2 separate regions of the Homo sapiens genome follow, and region 2 is linked to region 1. Evidence: promoter capture Hi-C in 16 types of primary human blood cells and fetal thymus (Javierre and others, 2016). All regions are on one chromosome and are shown on one strand. The core of a region is centred on a gene start or on the middle of the fragment in contact, and the rest is flanking DNA. Distances in the headings are between cores, read along the strand shown.

Region 1 (3,797 bases), core at 267-2,766:
AGCCTCTGGTAACCATCATTCTATTCTCTCTGTCCATGAGTTCAATTGTTTTAATTTTTAGCTCTCACAAATGAATGAAAACATGTGAAGTTTGTCTTTCCATGCCTGTTTTATTTCATTTAACAGAATGTCCTCCAGTTCCATCCATGGTGTTGTAAATGACAGGATCTCATTCCTTTTTATGGCTGAATAGTACTCCACTACGCATATGTACCACATTTTCTTCATCTAATTTATCTGTTGATGGACACTTACATTGCTTCCAGATCTTGTCTATTGTGAACAGAGCTGCAATAAACATGGCAGTGCAGGAATCTCTTCAAGATACTGATTTCTTTTTTGGGGGTATATACCTAGCAGTGGGATTGCTGGATCAGATGGTAGCTCTATATTTAGTTTTCTGACAAACCCCAATACTGTTCTCCATAGTGGCTGCATTAATTCACATTCTCACCAGCAATGTAGGAGGGTTCATTCTCTTTTCTTCACATCCTTGCCAGCATTTGTTATTGCCTGTCTTTTGGATAAAAGCCATTTTAACTAGGGTGAGACTTTATGATTTCTTGGTGAACAAGGAAAAGTGTTTAAGCTGTCCCCACCCTTTGATGGGTATGTTCTCTCTTCACGTGCGTAGGTTGTTGATGAAAGTCTAAGCGATTAATTTAAGCCATGTCAGAATAAACCAAAGTGAGGGTCCCAGCAGAATCATTCACTCTAGAATGCTCGGCTTTCTGGACCTCCCAGTGAGAACAGTGAGAAACTCCAGAGTTTTATGGATTTTAAGAATAGCTCTTCTGAGACTCTTTGGACAGGGTGCAAAGGAAAATTGTCTCCTCAGGTTGGGGGATGAGGGGGACTGTGAGATAAAGTACTGATAGATAAACTCCAGGTATGCACCTACTATGCTCCCCAAGCAATCTGCCATGTCCTTCACATGTCCTCCAGGGTGGCCCTGTGAAAAGCATTACTCCATCCCTTCAGCCCTCAACCTTGCTCGGCTTTCTAGAGTCTGTCTCATGCCGGCAGACACCCCATAGTTATTATTCTCTCTGCCCTCAGCAACATTTACCAGTTAGGGGGAAAATAAAGCCAGAAAATTGTTGCTATGGGCTCTGTTTTGTGGAAGTTAAAATGCTAGAGCAAGAATCTGATTGCTTGATAGCTCCATCTCTCTCTCTCTCTCCCTCCTACCCTCCTACCCCCCCACAGTTTCTCCTTCTTTTCCTCTCCCCTCCACCTCCTTCCCCCACCCCGCTCCCCCACATTTTCCTACTCCTCTCCCCTCTCTCCACTGGCCTCCCGGTCCTGCCCCCACATTGGGCTGGAGGAGAGCCTTACAGGTTGTCAATGAAACATGGAATTATTTCCTTTGATGGCTTAGATAATAGTAGGAGCCAAAGCAATGAGTGAGGTCGGCTGAAACCAATGCAGTCCTGCCCGGGACTGGAGAGCCAATCGCAAGAGCAGAGGGCGGGGCGTCGGAGCCAGCAGATAATTGCTAAGTGCATCGCTAGCACAGTTGGTCCGAGCTGCCGAAAGGTCTGGTCGCAGAGACAGGAACGTGTAATCCTCAGCGTGCTCCAGCCCACAGCTTCGCTCTACTGCTCGGCAGGGCAGCTGGCCTCTGGGCACCGGCGGCCCCTCTGCCTCGCGGAAAAGGTACCTCTGCCTGCGTCCCGGGGGTGCAGCGCCTGCGTCTCCATTGCCAGTGGCTTTGCAGTTTAGCCTAGGTGGAGGGATTGCAGAAAGAAAAGTTTCTGGGAGGGAATGTGATAAAGGTGGGAAATCACTGTCTTTTGTTGGGAGGAAAACAAGCGGACAATTTGGGAAACTTCTGCGCTGGCAAGAAATGGGCTTGTTTACTACTCCTAATTAGCTGCGCTCAGGTCTGTCTAAATAGGTCTGGTCTCAGGCTAGGGTGTCTGCAGGGCTGGGGTGGAGATTCGGGTGTGCTGGGTGAAAGAAGTTGGATCCCAGGGTGTGCTGTTTCCTGGTGCACCCATCATGGATAGGCTGGTTCCGAGAGAAACGTGATTGGTTGTTTGTGTTTTCCGCTATAGGGTCTGTCCCCTTCGTATTACCTTGATCTGCCTTCCCCAAACTATTGTGACCTTCAACTGGAGTCCTTCCTCAAACTTCTGCCTCCTTCCTGCCTGTCTCAGTTCATTTTATTTGGTGGAAGGAGACATTCCCCGGGGTGGGTGGGTGAGGATGGTCTATTCTGTTTGACCTGGTGGGCACCTACGTGACAACTTGGTGACACGCCAGCAAAACAGTTCTCAGAGGAGAGGAAATCACATAATTAATTAGCTCCCGAAAACTCTGGAAGACTTTCCAGGCTTGGGGTATCCTGAAAAAAAAAAAAAAAGAAAAAGCCAAAAAACGGGATAGAGAGTTCGGTTTGGTACCATGTGAAGCTTACACCCTTGTCCCCAGAAGGGGTGCCTGGCCCGGAGCATCCCCGCAGCTCTGGGAGGTGGAGGCTGGTGGAGGGGGTGGCTCCGTGTAGGTGCGCAGGTTGTTTTGGTGCACAGGTGCATTTGTGGCAGAGGTGGTGCTGAAGTCACCATCCACACTGCTTCTGCTAACTGCTCTTGAAGTAAAACAGCTCACCCCGGCAGGCAGCTGGTTCAGCCCAGAAGCACCCTTGAGCATTCTAAATCGCGAGACCTCAGGGGCCTCTCTTGCTCTGAGACCCTTGGGAAACTCCTTTCTCCCCCTGCCTCCTCCGCCTTTGGCTTCTGCTAAAGGGAGATATTAGGTAGGTGAGTCACTAGGAAGCAGGGACCCATGGGGAAGCAGGCGATGTGCTTGGTCTCGAACTTTCTTCCTCTTCTGCGAAGGCAGCTTCTGCTTGTGTGCCCACCGCACTTCACCAGTTGCGCTGCCTACCTGCGGGATACTCTGAAGCTGATAGTCTGGGGGTGATCTTCCAAGTCCTAGGGGCATTGAAGAGTTTAGATGATTTTCATCCCTCTGATTTCCGTTAAACCCGCAGCTGGGGAGTTCGATTCCCAGTCCTGACAAGACTGCATGTTCTGGGAGGGATTCTCCAGTGACACCTCTTCCTCAGGGCACCCTTCCACGGAGATGCAGATGACAGTCTTGATTCTCCAGCTCCACAAATCCCTTCCACTTTTTAATTCTTATTTTCTTTAACCACCACAACAGATTCTCCTCCACCTCCTGTAGGCAGCTATTTTGGGTGGGAACTGTGATTATTGAAACTCTATTCACAATGGTTAAAAAAATGCCTGCCCACTTTTTTTTTGGGGGGGGTGTCAAAATACCATCAGCGTTCTCTTCTGTACTTCCTATCTGACAGTAAACAAAACAATTTTGCAGCCCTGCCAATTATAATCTTTTTGTGTTTGGGGGGCCTGGAGCGGAAGCTGAACTTTTCCCAGCCGGTGGGCATGGTTAGTCATGGACGTCGTCCTCTGTGGCCTCTCCAGGGCACGTGACCCCCAGGGAGCCCAGGAGGGGCAGCCCCCAGCACGTGGGGGATCTTGCATGAGAGCACCTTGGTTTTCATGAAGGCAGTAAGGAAACCAGAAAATGCTTTTGAGTTTGAGGATTGCAAAACTGGGGGTTCCCTTTAATTGATGCCAATCTGTTGGATTTCTATCGTGATAGGAAACATTAAAAGTAAGGCATTTGAAACAGCTCCTGAAGGGTGAGTCATGCACAGAGGGAAGAGGCAGTGTGGGGGGAGGGGGCGGAGGGGGCCTTGGAAAGTACAAGTGGGACACGCTGGAGCGCTCGCTTTCCTTCCCTCTGCCTCCTCCTCAATCCTC
Region 2 (3,726 bases), core at 319-2,818, 410 kb before region 1:
AGTCCAAAGCAAGCTCCCTAGAGCTTTACAAACAAGCTGGCGGGCAAGGCAGCGCGCCCTATAGTGTCTCTGTGGAGCGCTAAGATCTGTGACCCCTTTGCCACATGGGGTGTGCGCTCAGACTGGGCTATGAATATATCAGCCTCTCTCCACCCGCACTTAGGGACAGAAGATATGGAGACTCCAGGAACTTCATGAACTATTTGCTGTGGTCTTCTGTCCCGGGATAGTCCGGGTCTCACTCCCAGCTCTCCAGAGCTTAACCCTCCCTCTCAGGGGAATGTTTGAAACCTACGAAGAATTCTCAGGAATTCGAGGTAGAAGGTGGCAGAGAGACTTCTGTTCCTGGGGGCCGAGCTGTTGTGCTGATACCGTCCTCTTGGCGTCTGCCCTAGTGGGGACCCTTGATTTTAACTTGAAGTTCCTGGACTGGGTCTAACCTTAGCATGTGTGCCTGAGTGATGGACTTGGTATTTACACCAGCCACGCTGATAAGTGCACATGTGTTTTTAATGTTTTGGCTTTCCACACCACAAACACACAGATGTGCTGTCGCCCGGGCTAGGACTTGAGTAGGGTTTTTCTATTTAAATATATATTATATATTTAAAAAAGTGTCCTCCCAGAGCTAATACCGTTGCTAGCAGCTCTTCCTGCCGCCACACCGGGCAAAGTCCACCCACTGCCCCAGTGTTGAGGGCCACCATGGGCGGCCCCACCTGGAGAGGTGCTGCTCACAGCAAACAGCTCCAACTGCGCCTTCGCCTCGCCTTCCAGGGAGCCCAGCCAGGCCCACTGGGTATTTACAAGCAGACCTCCCTCGCTTCAGCCTTCCTGAACCCCTGTTAGTTGGGAAACCACCTGTCTGCACCGCAGCTAGAGAACCGAGGAGAGGAGCCGCTAGTCTAAAGGGCTGTTGGTTGAAATTAGGAAGCAGTGTAAAGAAAAAGAAAAAAAAAGTTTGGGAGGCCAAGGCAGGAGCATCACCTGAGGTCAGGAGTTCGAGACCAGCCTGGCTAACATGGTGAAACCCCGTCTCTACTAAAAATACAAAAAATTAGCGGGGGCATGGTGGCACGCGGCTGTAATCCCAGCTACTCGGGAGGCTGAGGCAGGAGAATCGCTTGAACCCGGGAGGCGGAGGTTGCAGTCAGCGGAGATAGCGCCATTGCACTCCAGCTTAGGCAACAAGAGCGAAACTGTCTCAAAAAAAAAAAGTCTTCATAATTTCATGGGTTTGCAAGTATGATCCAGGCTCCCCGCTTCTCTGCAAGCCAATGCGAGTTAATTACAGCGTCCGCCCTGGTCTCTCTCCACCCCACGCCGTGATCCATTCCCCTTCTTTTTCTCCCCTTGTCTCTTTCCTCCTCCCCCTTTTATTTATGTATTTTTGGTTTTGTTTTTTAAGGGGTGTTGAGCCGCGTCTGGTTCTAGTAAACCGAACCCGCTCGCGAGGGAGGCGATTGGCTCCCGCGCCGGTGACGGACGTGGTAACGAGTGCGGCTCGCCCCGCCGGGAGCTGATTGGCTGCGCGGGGCGGCTCCGAGGGCTCGGCCGTAGGAGCCCCGCGCACTCCAGCCCTGCAGCCTCCGGAGTCAGTGCCGCGCGCCCGCCGCCCCGCGCCTTCCTGCTCGCCGCACCTCCGGGAGCCGGGGCGCACCCAGCCCGCAGCGCCGCCTCCCCGCCCGCGCCGCCTCCGACCGCAGGCCGAGGGCCGCCACTGGCCGGGGGGACCGGGCAGCAGCTTGCGGCCGCGGAGCCGGGCAACGCTGGGGACTGCGCCTTTTGTCCCCGGAGGTCCCTGGAAGTTTGCGGCAGGACGCGCGCGGGGAGGCGGCGGAGGCAGCCCCGACGTCGCGGAGAACAGGGCGCAGAGCCGGCATGGGCATCGGGCGCAGCGAGGGGGGCCGCCGCGGGGCAGCCCTGGGCGTGCTGCTGGCGCTGGGCGCGGCGCTTCTGGCCGTGGGCTCGGCCAGCGAGTACGACTACGTGAGCTTCCAGTCGGACATCGGCCCGTACCAGAGCGGGCGCTTCTACACCAAGCCACCTCAGTGCGTGGACATCCCCGCGGACCTGCGGCTGTGCCACAACGTGGGCTACAAGAAGATGGTGCTGCCCAACCTGCTGGAGCACGAGACCATGGCGGAGGTGAAGCAGCAGGCCAGCAGCTGGGTGCCCCTGCTCAACAAGAACTGCCACGCCGGCACCCAGGTCTTCCTCTGCTCGCTCTTCGCGCCCGTCTGCCTGGACCGGCCCATCTACCCGTGTCGCTGGCTCTGCGAGGCCGTGCGCGACTCGTGCGAGCCGGTCATGCAGTTCTTCGGCTTCTACTGGCCCGAGATGCTTAAGTGTGACAAGTTCCCCGAGGGGGACGTCTGCATCGCCATGACGCCGCCCAATGCCACCGAAGCCTCCAAGCCCCAAGGTAAGGCTGCCTCCTCCCACGTGCGCGAGCCGCCCCCTCCATCCCCCGGCCGGAGCTGCAGGAGAACCCGCGCCACCCTACGCCCGCCCGCCGCTGGGTCCCGGTGCTGGGGACTGAGGGCCCGAGGTTGCTCGCATGCTGTGCACGTGATTCCTAAGCGCGTCTGGTCTGTCCCAGGTATCGCTCAGCGCCCCTCGCGACCCAGGTGCACGGCGGGGCTGGCCCGGGAGCGGCAGCTCTGCGCCTTGGCCTCGCAGGGACTCGCTGTGGTCCCCGGAGCCGCTCTTCCTGGGATCCAACTTCGCCTTTCCCATACCTGAAACAAAGCCTTGCGCTTTAAATAACAGGGGAGCTTCCCTCTCCTCTAGGAGGACTCCGAGTCCCTATCGAAGTTTTTAACCTCTGAGACGGGAGGAAAAAACAAAAACCCAAAGCGTAGAAAGTTCAGAAAGGCCGAGAGAATGCTTGGAGCAGCTTTTGTTTATTTTCATAGGTTCGACAAAGATTTAAAAAATAAAACCAAGCCCTTTCCTTCACTGGTCATTCAGTCAAGTAGCCTTGGGATTGCTGCAAAACTGGCTGAGAAAGTTTAGGAACCGTGGGGACTTCTGTTTCTCCACCCCTTCCAGGTACCAGCTCTGCCCTCGGAGGGCTGGGGGTGGAAAGTCTTTTCTCCCTCCCTCTAGCGTACCCCCTGCTTTTCTCATTTACACAAATCCTCAGCTCATTAGAAAGATAAAAATGTAATTAGCTCATTGTTCATCTCCTCCCGGGGAGAGCAGCTCTGCAAAATGCAGACTTTCCTAACAGCCTGAGGGACCGGCCCGAGGTTCCTCTCAAAACCCCCTTATGTTTAAAGAGCAATTCTTGAGGGGGAAGAAAAAAAAATCCTGGGAAGTCAAATAAAATGAAATAGATATAAAGATAAAATATACACATCACAGACCTGACTTCTATAGAAGTAAATTCAACCCAGAATTCTTTAGAAGCGAAGTTTAGGCTCTGAGGTGTGGAGAGGGTCAGGGATTGGGGAGCTGTACCCCAGCTGCGCTTAGCACAGACGCAGGCTTCCTGAGGGCTTTTTGAGGAGGGCCTTTAGGGTGGGGGAGAAAGACTGCCTACACTTAGCTCACCTTAAAGTGTCTTTAACCTCTGTTATTGATGCTAAAAGAGGGGAGTGCAGTCACCTGGCTCCTCAGAGTGAGGATTTGGGCAGGTGGGGGAAAGGGATACCCCAAATTTTAGATGCTTTTGCTTATTCTAGGGAGGGTGGAGATGGGTCCACAGTGACTGTCGTTGGA

Evidence for each region. Contacts are between HindIII fragments. The CHiCAGO score rates a contact against its expected background, and 5 or more counts as called.
Region 2: a contact is called between the fragment with the promoter of SFRP1 here and the fragment with the promoter of ZMAT4 in region 1, in 3 of 17 cell types (naive CD8 T cells, M0 macrophages and naive B cells). The highest score is 9.1, in naive CD8 T cells.

What each region holds. Positions count from the first base shown.
Region 1 is chr8:40,895,545-40,899,341 of GRCh38, reverse strand. It overlaps ZMAT4 (zinc finger matrin-type 4), which reads left to right and starts at 1,516. Exons shown (of 7, transcript NM_024645.3): 1 at 1,516-1,659. The HindIII fragment of the contact is 2,974 bases long and covers 1-2,419 here.
Region 2 is chr8:41,307,315-41,311,040 of GRCh38, reverse strand. It overlaps SFRP1 (secreted frizzled related protein 1), which reads left to right and starts at 1,568. Exons shown (of 3, transcript NM_003012.5): 1 at 1,568-2,425. The coding sequence starts at 1,882. RefSeq lists enhancers at 1,848-2,618, 2,619-3,390. The HindIII fragment of the contact is 12,075 bases long and covers 1-3,726 here.